Regions from separate parts of the Homo sapiens genome. Here region 2 is linked to region 1. The links are contacts of gene promoters, found by promoter capture Hi-C in blood cells and fetal thymus (Javierre and others, 2016). All regions are on one chromosome and are shown on one strand. The core of a region is centred on a gene start or on the middle of the fragment in contact, and the rest is flanking DNA. Distances in the headings are between cores, read along the strand shown. Region 1 holds the start of RABL6 (RAB, member RAS oncogene family like 6). Region 2 holds the start of NOTCH1 (notch receptor 1).

What was found. Contacts are between HindIII fragments. The CHiCAGO score rates a contact against its expected background, and 5 or more counts as called.
Region 2: a contact is called between the fragment with the promoter of NOTCH1 here and the fragment with the promoter of RABL6 in region 1, in 1 of 17 cell types (fetal thymus). The highest score is 5.2, in fetal thymus.

Annotation. Positions count from the first base shown.
Region 1 is chr9:136,806,698-136,810,291 of GRCh38, reverse strand. It overlaps RABL6 (RAB, member RAS oncogene family like 6), which reads right to left and starts at 2,344. Exons shown (of 15, transcript NM_024718.5): 1 at 1,966-2,344. The coding sequence starts at 2,095. CCDC183 (coiled-coil domain containing 183) reads right to left here. Exons shown (of 14, transcript NM_001039374.5): 12 at 3,425-3,535; 13 at 3,226-3,322; 14 at 2,551-2,720. The coding sequence ends at 2,602. It overlaps CCDC183-AS1 (CCDC183 antisense RNA 1), which reads left to right and starts at 1,444. Exons shown (of 5, transcript NR_024580.1): 1 at 1,444-1,565; 2 at 3,090-3,463. It also overlaps the pseudogene LOC100422233. RefSeq lists silencers at 1,533-2,062, 2,073-2,202, 2,223-2,282, 2,333-2,502, 2,703-2,932 and enhancers at 2,208-2,804, 2,805-3,400. The HindIII fragment of the contact is 3,360 bases long and covers 1,226-3,594 here.
Region 2 is chr9:136,544,533-136,548,126 of GRCh38, reverse strand. It overlaps NOTCH1 (notch receptor 1), which reads left to right and starts at 2,079. Exons shown (of 34, transcript NM_017617.5): 1 at 2,079-2,401. The coding sequence starts at 2,341. It overlaps MIR4674 (microRNA 4674), which reads left to right and starts at 1,868; the gene lies at 1,868-1,954. NALT1 (NOTCH1 associated lncRNA in T cell acute lymphoblastic leukemia 1) reads right to left here and starts at 285. Exons shown (of 3, transcript NR_121577.1): 1 at 26-285. RefSeq lists enhancers at 311-1,222, 3,195-3,244 and silencers at 1,415-1,514, 1,855-2,414, 2,435-2,694, 2,915-2,964. The HindIII fragment of the contact is 3,030 bases long and covers 20-3,049 here.

The DNA of each region.
Region 1 (3,594 bases), core at 1,095-3,594:
ACACAGGGGTGGTCCTGGTGCATGAGGTGGACCTTGCCCAGGACCCTCGGGGAGCCTTTTCAGAAGGTGAACAGTTTCCAGGTCCAGGCCTGATTTCCCAGGGACTAATACTGAGCTTAGCCAATACTGTAAGCAATAAAATTAAATAAAGGATCCAAACGCAGAGTCTAAAAACTGGCGTAAACTCAGTTATTTTGACTCAATATTCTCTTCTCCGAATGCCAGCTATGTATAAAGTTTCAATTATAACACATTTAAAATCAGCTTTTATTTTTATTCAAAATGCACCACTTTATTTTCCTTACCAGACAGCCAAGCATTAAGCACGTTCCAGTCACGTGACTTCTTCAGCGAGCCCCCAGGCTTCCACTCCACGGGAGTCTGGGAGCTCCTGGACAGAGGAGTCCTGAGATTTCAAATAGTCAAGCCTTCTCCCCAGCCACAAGTTCCTTTGATGCTTGGGTTACTGAACACAAACGCAATGGATTGTTTGTCTTCAACATAATCCGTTTCTGTTCCTAAACGTGTTGGCTGCGCTTTCTTTCTGATGAGCACGCTGACTCTAATTTGAACTTCATCAAAATCTTCTTTGTCGTCGTATGTTCTAGAGTATAAGAAAAGCCAATACGGCCCTTGGTTCGGACATCAACTTTCTTTTAAATTTTTTTTTCGTATTTTTAGTAGAGACGGTGTTTCACTATGTTGGCCAGGCTGGTCTCGAATTCCTGACCTCGTGATCTGCCCGCCTTGGCCTCCCAAAGTGCTGGGATTACAGGCATGAGCCACCGTGCCCGGCCCGGACACCAACTTTCATACCTAGATGCTCAGACTTATCTTTAAGAAGTTGTTTTATCTTGCTTACTGCTAAAGGTGTCTGGGTGAGGGTGGCCCGAGTGGTCTGCAGCTTCCTCTTGCTCACAGGCCGGGGGACTAAGGAAGGCGACATCTTCACTGTCCTCCTGGACTAGCTCCAGCCCCAGGAACTACGGCCTCTCTCCGTGCACACGGCACGCGAATTCATGAACTTGCTTTTAAACCTGCACAAGAGTCTTTCTGATCATTAGTTCTTAAAATTCTACATTACCATGGAAATATCACGGAGGCTCTAAGGCTCCCCTTAAAGTGACCAAAAAACTGGATAGGCGTAGCGTCCTAAAACCTCATAGAAACATACGGAAATGGCTAAGAGGGAAGCAATGTCAAAACAGGGAACCACATAAAAGCTTTCAAAAACTACTGGGAAAGAGCCCGCAAGATGGAAAAACTCATAAGAGGTCGAGGACAATTTACACAATTTATAACAAAGGAATGGAGCGTCCCAGGCACTCAGGAGTCCGTAAATGACTCCTCCTTCCTACGAGAAATGGGATGTCTCCTACAGTCGCAAGTCAGCCCGTGCCTTCTGGAGCTTTTCTAGATACGTCTCTTACAAACGCTTCTTTTAAAAAAAAAGGCGAGAATGTGTGGCGTAGCTAATATTCTGTCTTCAAACTCAGTAGGAAGTCAACAAAGAAAAATCCCGCTGAAAGCGCCAAGGCCGGCTGGGTTCCCCGCACCTCCTGCAGGTGAGTGGTGCCCGGGGCTGGGCACCGTGGAGCGTCGGGGGCGCGGCGCCCCGGGCCGGCGGGCCCTGCTTGGCATTATGTAATCACCCCCGGGCCGGGCAGCCGGGCCAACCCCGCCGCCGCCGACCCGCTCCACTGCACAGCGCGGCGGGAGCGACACGCGGCAGGCGAGTGCGGCTGGGAAACGACCCGCGGCTCGGGGGCCGCGAGGACCCGGCCCTGGCCTGGCCTCTCCTCGCGTCCCCTGGCCCGCGCCCCCGCTCCCGGAGCGCCCGGCGGGCCCAGCGCACCCCACAACCGGCAAGCAGGTGAGACCGACACCCACCACCGCGCGGCGCCCGGGGCCTGGGTTCGGAGACCCGCGCGGCGCTCCCGCGCCCCCCCGGCCCGCCGCACTCACTGTTGTACTGCACCCCCTTGGCGAAGCGCCTCTGCAACGCCTGGTTCATGGACTGCAGCCCGGCGGGGATGTTCTTGTCCCGGCCCGGGGCCTGGTCCGACCCCACCAGCTTCTTCAGGGCGGAAAACATCTTCCCGCTCGGACGTCCCAGCCCGGGCGCGGCCGGCGAGCTCAGCGGCGGCGGGGAAGGGGTGCGACTGGCACCATGTCCCGGCGGCCCCGGCCCCCCCGGAGGCCGGAGCCGGCGCGGCCAGAGGCCGGGGTCCCGGCGGCGGAGCGCAGCCCCGAGCGGCGACTCGGGAACCTCAGCCGCGGCTGCTCCGCTCCGGCCCCCGCGGCCTCCGGCGCGACCGCTCTCCAGGAGTCAGCGCCGCCATCTTGGCGCCGGCTCGGCGGGACGGGAGGGGTGCGCGGCTACGGGGCGCCGCGAGGGCCGCGGGGGCGCGGCGCGCGCGGTCGGCGCATGCGCACGCGGTTCTGGCGCGCAGTTCCGGGCCCGGGCTGCCTCCTTACGCAGAACCTCCCCCGATCCTGCGTGTCCCGTGCTCCTCTCCGAGACCCCGGTCGCCCCAGCGTCCGCAGCAGTCCTGGAAAAATGTTTATTTGTGTAGCAAAGCAGGGAGCGGGGCGGCGGGGCTACTTCTTCTTTTTCTTGGCCGCCTTGAGCTTCCCCTCGATTAGCCGCTGCGCCTGCCTCTTGATCTCGGCGCGCGAAGGGACGTAGCTGTGGTCCATGTCGGGGAACTGGAAGGTGTCTGCGGGCGGAGGCGGCGGCTCGCACACGGGGCTAGCCCAGCTAGGCGCAGCCGCCCGACCCGCCTCTCGCCCCCGCCCTCCACCGACCCGGGCCAGGTGCCTTGCCCCAGGGACAGCCCCAGCGTGCCGGGAGGACTCAGCCCAGCCCATTCGCAGCGGCTCACGCTGCCCTGCCTAGCCTTTCCCGCAGAACCCCCAGTGGAAGCTCCGGCCCAGGCCTTCACCGCGCTCCTCCCTGCTCCAGCCCTGGTGCCTCTCCTCCGGGCCCGTCTGGCATGGCATGCCTCCTCCTTTCGGAGAAATTAACAAGGTATTTCAGTGGCTTTAGCCTCCCCATGGCATCACTAAGTCACCTCCATCAATTAAAGTCCTGCAGGTACAACTGATGCACCCTGTAGCCCCGCTGTCCCTCCAGGATGTCCCGGTGGGATGGGAGCCGGCGCCACCCCGACCTGTGTTCCAGCCACCCGCCTGCAGCCCGGGCCCCAGTTCCGGGGCCTGTACCGATCATATCCTCCTCCCGGTTCTCAAAGCTGATCCTGGTGTTGTACTTCTCCATCAGAGTCGAGGACTCCAGGGTGTCCCTCACCTTTGTGTCGCCCTGCAGGGCAAAGCCCCCTTCAGCCGTGCAGACACTCTGAACGGGAGCCTGTCAGCTTTGAGGGGACGTGGGCTGTGCAGGTTCCTCCCAGCCCGGGGCTACCTCCTCGGTCCTGGACACCATCTGCACTCTGTCAGCCAGGTACGTGAGCTTCCCCTCGCAGTACGCCAGCTTGCTGTTCAAATCGAGGGTGTTGGAGAGCACCACTTCTCTCTGTAGGCCGGGAGGAGGGTCTCATCTCCCCTCTGGCCCTGCCCAGGGACCTGGTGTGT
Region 2 (3,594 bases), core at 830-3,329, 260 kb after region 1:
ACTTGTGAATGAAAAAGCTTCTCACCTACTTGCCAGGGGCCTACCCCCTTCCCAGGCTGGTGGGGAGGTGAGGCCCATCCCCCTCATCCCTGGCTTCTCCTCGGCCACAGCTGTCCATGGGGTACTCCCGGCTGTGGGTGGTGCAGGGGTTGGGAGCTGGGAGGCCGAGGCCTGTGCTTCCCTCGGGCCTGTGCACCCGGCCGCACCATCCGTAACGCGGGCTTATGAGCGTGCCTGGCTGCTGGGTGGCCTGACGGGTGGACACCGAATGGGCCACTCTCTTCTCTGCTGGTAGAGGATGGAGGCCCAAGGTGGAGGTGCTGTCGGCACAGCTGGGGCAGACCAGGGGAGACCCCCTATCCAGGGATCCCCTCCTCCCCTCCCAGGCCGCCCCTCCGCAAAATGCTGAGGACTGGCCCCCGGGCCTGGGCTACATGGGCCATTACTTCTGGCCTGGGGCCCACAGGCAGAGATGCCAATGGAGGCACACAGGCAGTCGCACCCGCACCCGATCAGCACCAGGCCTGAGGCCTTCGGGCCTCCCTATGCCCCACCCCACCCCCACCCACCAGGAGCAGAGGACGTCGTGGTGGGCAGAGTCCTCAGCCTGGGAGCTGCACAGCCCCGCGCTTCCTTCTATGGAAAATCTGCTCCTCCAGGCTGCCTGGCTGCTGTTACATAAACATCTCTGCTGCCTCCAGGCGCCTCCTCTCCTGGGGCGCTGACCCCAAGATGTTACCCCAGGCCTGCAGAAGTGAGGCCAGATTCTGGGAGGACGCAGGCGAGGGAGGCTCCCAGCAGCAGCTACAGGGGCGGGACAGGCCGCCTGCACTGGCTGTTTCCAGAGTGCTCAGCATTTGGCAAGAGGTGTGCCAGGAAAGGCTTGCTGGGGTCAGGTGTGAGATTTGTCCTGCTTTCTGTGCCTGCCTCTGCCACCATGCTCTGGGGTTTCTGCAGCCCTCCCCCCAGGCCCCCACAGTCCTAGGTCCCTCCCAGCCTTTCGGTCTCCCCGCAGGGCAGGCTTAGCCCTCCTACTCCAGGAGGGGCGCCGGGACACGCGCCTTCTGCCATCGCACTCACCACCCTGTGTTGGGGTGGGGAGGGGGCGCTGTCTGTCCCTGGCACGAGGCCGTGAACTTTGCGCAGGGACTATGGCAGGCATTTTGGACTCCTGGCGCTTAACCAGGCTTGGCACAGGGTGCCCGTGCCTGGCATCGTGGTGGAGAAATAAATCAGCCGGAAGGAGCACGTGGGAAGGGCTGCGCCGGCGCCAGCGGCAGATCCGCCCGACCCGTTTGTGCTTTCTGGGGCCACCTTAGGCAGGCGGCGCCCGGGCAGGAGGAGGACGGTGACCGAGGAGCGTGTCGACGCGGGTCCCCCTTGGGGGAGCGGGGCACAATCCGTCCGCGAGGCACTGGTCCCGGCTGCTCCCTCGGGGCGCCCGGAGTCCCCTGCCCAGAGGCCGCGGCGCCCCCATCCCTCGCGGTCAAGTGCTCGGGCAATCACGGCCAGGGATGTCTGGCGGCGATCGATCCTCTGGACGCCTAAAGCCGCGGCCACGGGGCCCTCGGGAGGGAGTGAAGCCGCTGGGCTAGGGGCGCACACACGGCTAGGCCACTCTCCCAGAGCCCTGCCCCGGGCCCGGGGTCCCCCAACGTGGCCTCAGCTGCTCCCCGCCCGGCCCAGCGCACGGTGCACACGGCTGTCCGCGGCCTCGCCCTCCCCATTCCGCCCCGGGCTCCTCCGCTTATTCACATGCAAATTTCAGTCGCCAGTTGTCGCCGAGCGCGGCAACCGCCAGAGCCGGATCCTTCCGCAGCCCCGGCTCAAACTTTTGGCCTCTGAAAACTTTCAAACGAGAAGTAGTCCCAGGCGCCCGCTCCCGACCCACGCCGCGCCGCCGGGTCCCTCCTCCCCGGAGAGGCTGGGCTCGGGACGCGCGGCTCAGCTCGGGGAGGCGCAAAGGCGGACGGGGCGTGCGGGAGGAGGTGGCCGCGGAGGGGGCGGGGGGACCGGCGGGGGTGGGGCCGGGCGGGGCGGGGCCGGCGGGGGCGGAGCGCACCTCGACTCTGAGCCTCACTAGTGCCTCGGCCGCGGGAGGGAGCGCAAGGGCGCGGGGCGCGGGGCGCGGGCGCGGGCGCGAGCGCAGCGAAGGAACGAGCCGGGCGCGGAGCCGGGCCCGGGGGCCTGCGAGAGCACAGCGCCGCCAGCCAGCCGGGGAAGAGAGGGCGGGACCGTCCGCCGCCGCCCCGGGACCGTACGCCGCGCGTGTGCGTCCCAGCCCCGCCGGCCAGCGCAGGAGGCCGCCGCCCGGGCGCAGAGGGCAGCCGGTGGGGAGGCATGCCGCCGCTCCTGGCGCCCCTGCTCTGCCTGGCGCTGCTGCCCGCGCTCGCCGCACGAGGTAGGCGCCCACCCACCCGCGAGCCCCCACTTTCCGCGCCCTTTGGAAACTTTGGCGGCGCCCGGCGCGCGCGCCCCACGGCTGGGAGCGGGCGGCGGGGAGGCCAGCATGGAGAGGGAAAAGCGGGCGGCCCGGGGCGTGGGGTTCTGGAGTCCCGGGATCAGGGAGGACCGACCTTCCCCCTCGATCCCCCCGTGGAGGCGGACTCGCGCCGCCCGTGCCTGGAGCCGAGTTAGGAGGCCGGTGTGGGGTGCTGGGGCCCCGGAGGCCCTACTCCGGGCCCGCCCTTCACCCGCCGCGCGTGGGGCTTGCCGCCGGTCGGCCGGGCGGGCGGGCTGCCTACTATTTTTCGATTTGAATAGAGTCGGTTTTGGTTTCCTGTTGCTTCTCCGGGCCATTTATCTTCTTTCTTCTTCGCCTCTGGCCCACGCCGGGGCGGATGTTGGGGCGCGGAGTGTGGGCTCTGCGGCGCCGCGTTCGCCTTCACTGACCCGCGCGGCCGGGCTGGGTCCCCGGGCTCCCGGTCGCCCCGCCCGCCGGTGCCCCCCAGCCCGGCTCTCAGTTTGGGGGAGGGGTTGCGTAAGAAGCCGCCGCGCCCGGGGGGACTGAACTTTCCTTTTGCTTTGCGGAGTTGAAGTTTGGAAAGCTTGGGGGCGGAGAGCGGGACGCGGGTGGGGGGCTCTTACATTTCTCCCCGCCGCACAGCGAGCGGGGTCTCTGGGGAATCGAGTGATTAATCCACTCTTTCTCCGAGAGTTGGAGGCGAGAATTATCTGTCCTCTTCCAGAAAGTGCGGCTCTGTGTCACACCCCCCTCCCCCGTTTCTCAGCCCCGGTAAGATGGGGAGGGAGGGGCTTGAGTAATTGATCCCTTCTCGAGATGGGGTCGAATTCCTTCCGAATGGGGGACCTTCATCCCCCTCCTGTGGGTGTATGGGGGCTGCCCTGGAGATGCGCGCCCGCGGAGGCAGGTATTGGGTGTCGGCGGAGGCGGGGCCGCGTCCCCAGGGTGCTGTCCCGGTGCCCCTGGAGGCGGCCCCGACTCCACAATGGGCCGCTCTGATTCTGAGGCGGAGGCCGGCGCTTTGTTGGCGGGCGGGGTAGCGGGCGAGCAGCTGTCGCATTTTCCCACGGGCGGGAGCTGAGTGTGGCCACCCCCCCTCCCCCCGTCCAGCTCTGCCCCCTTGCAGAACG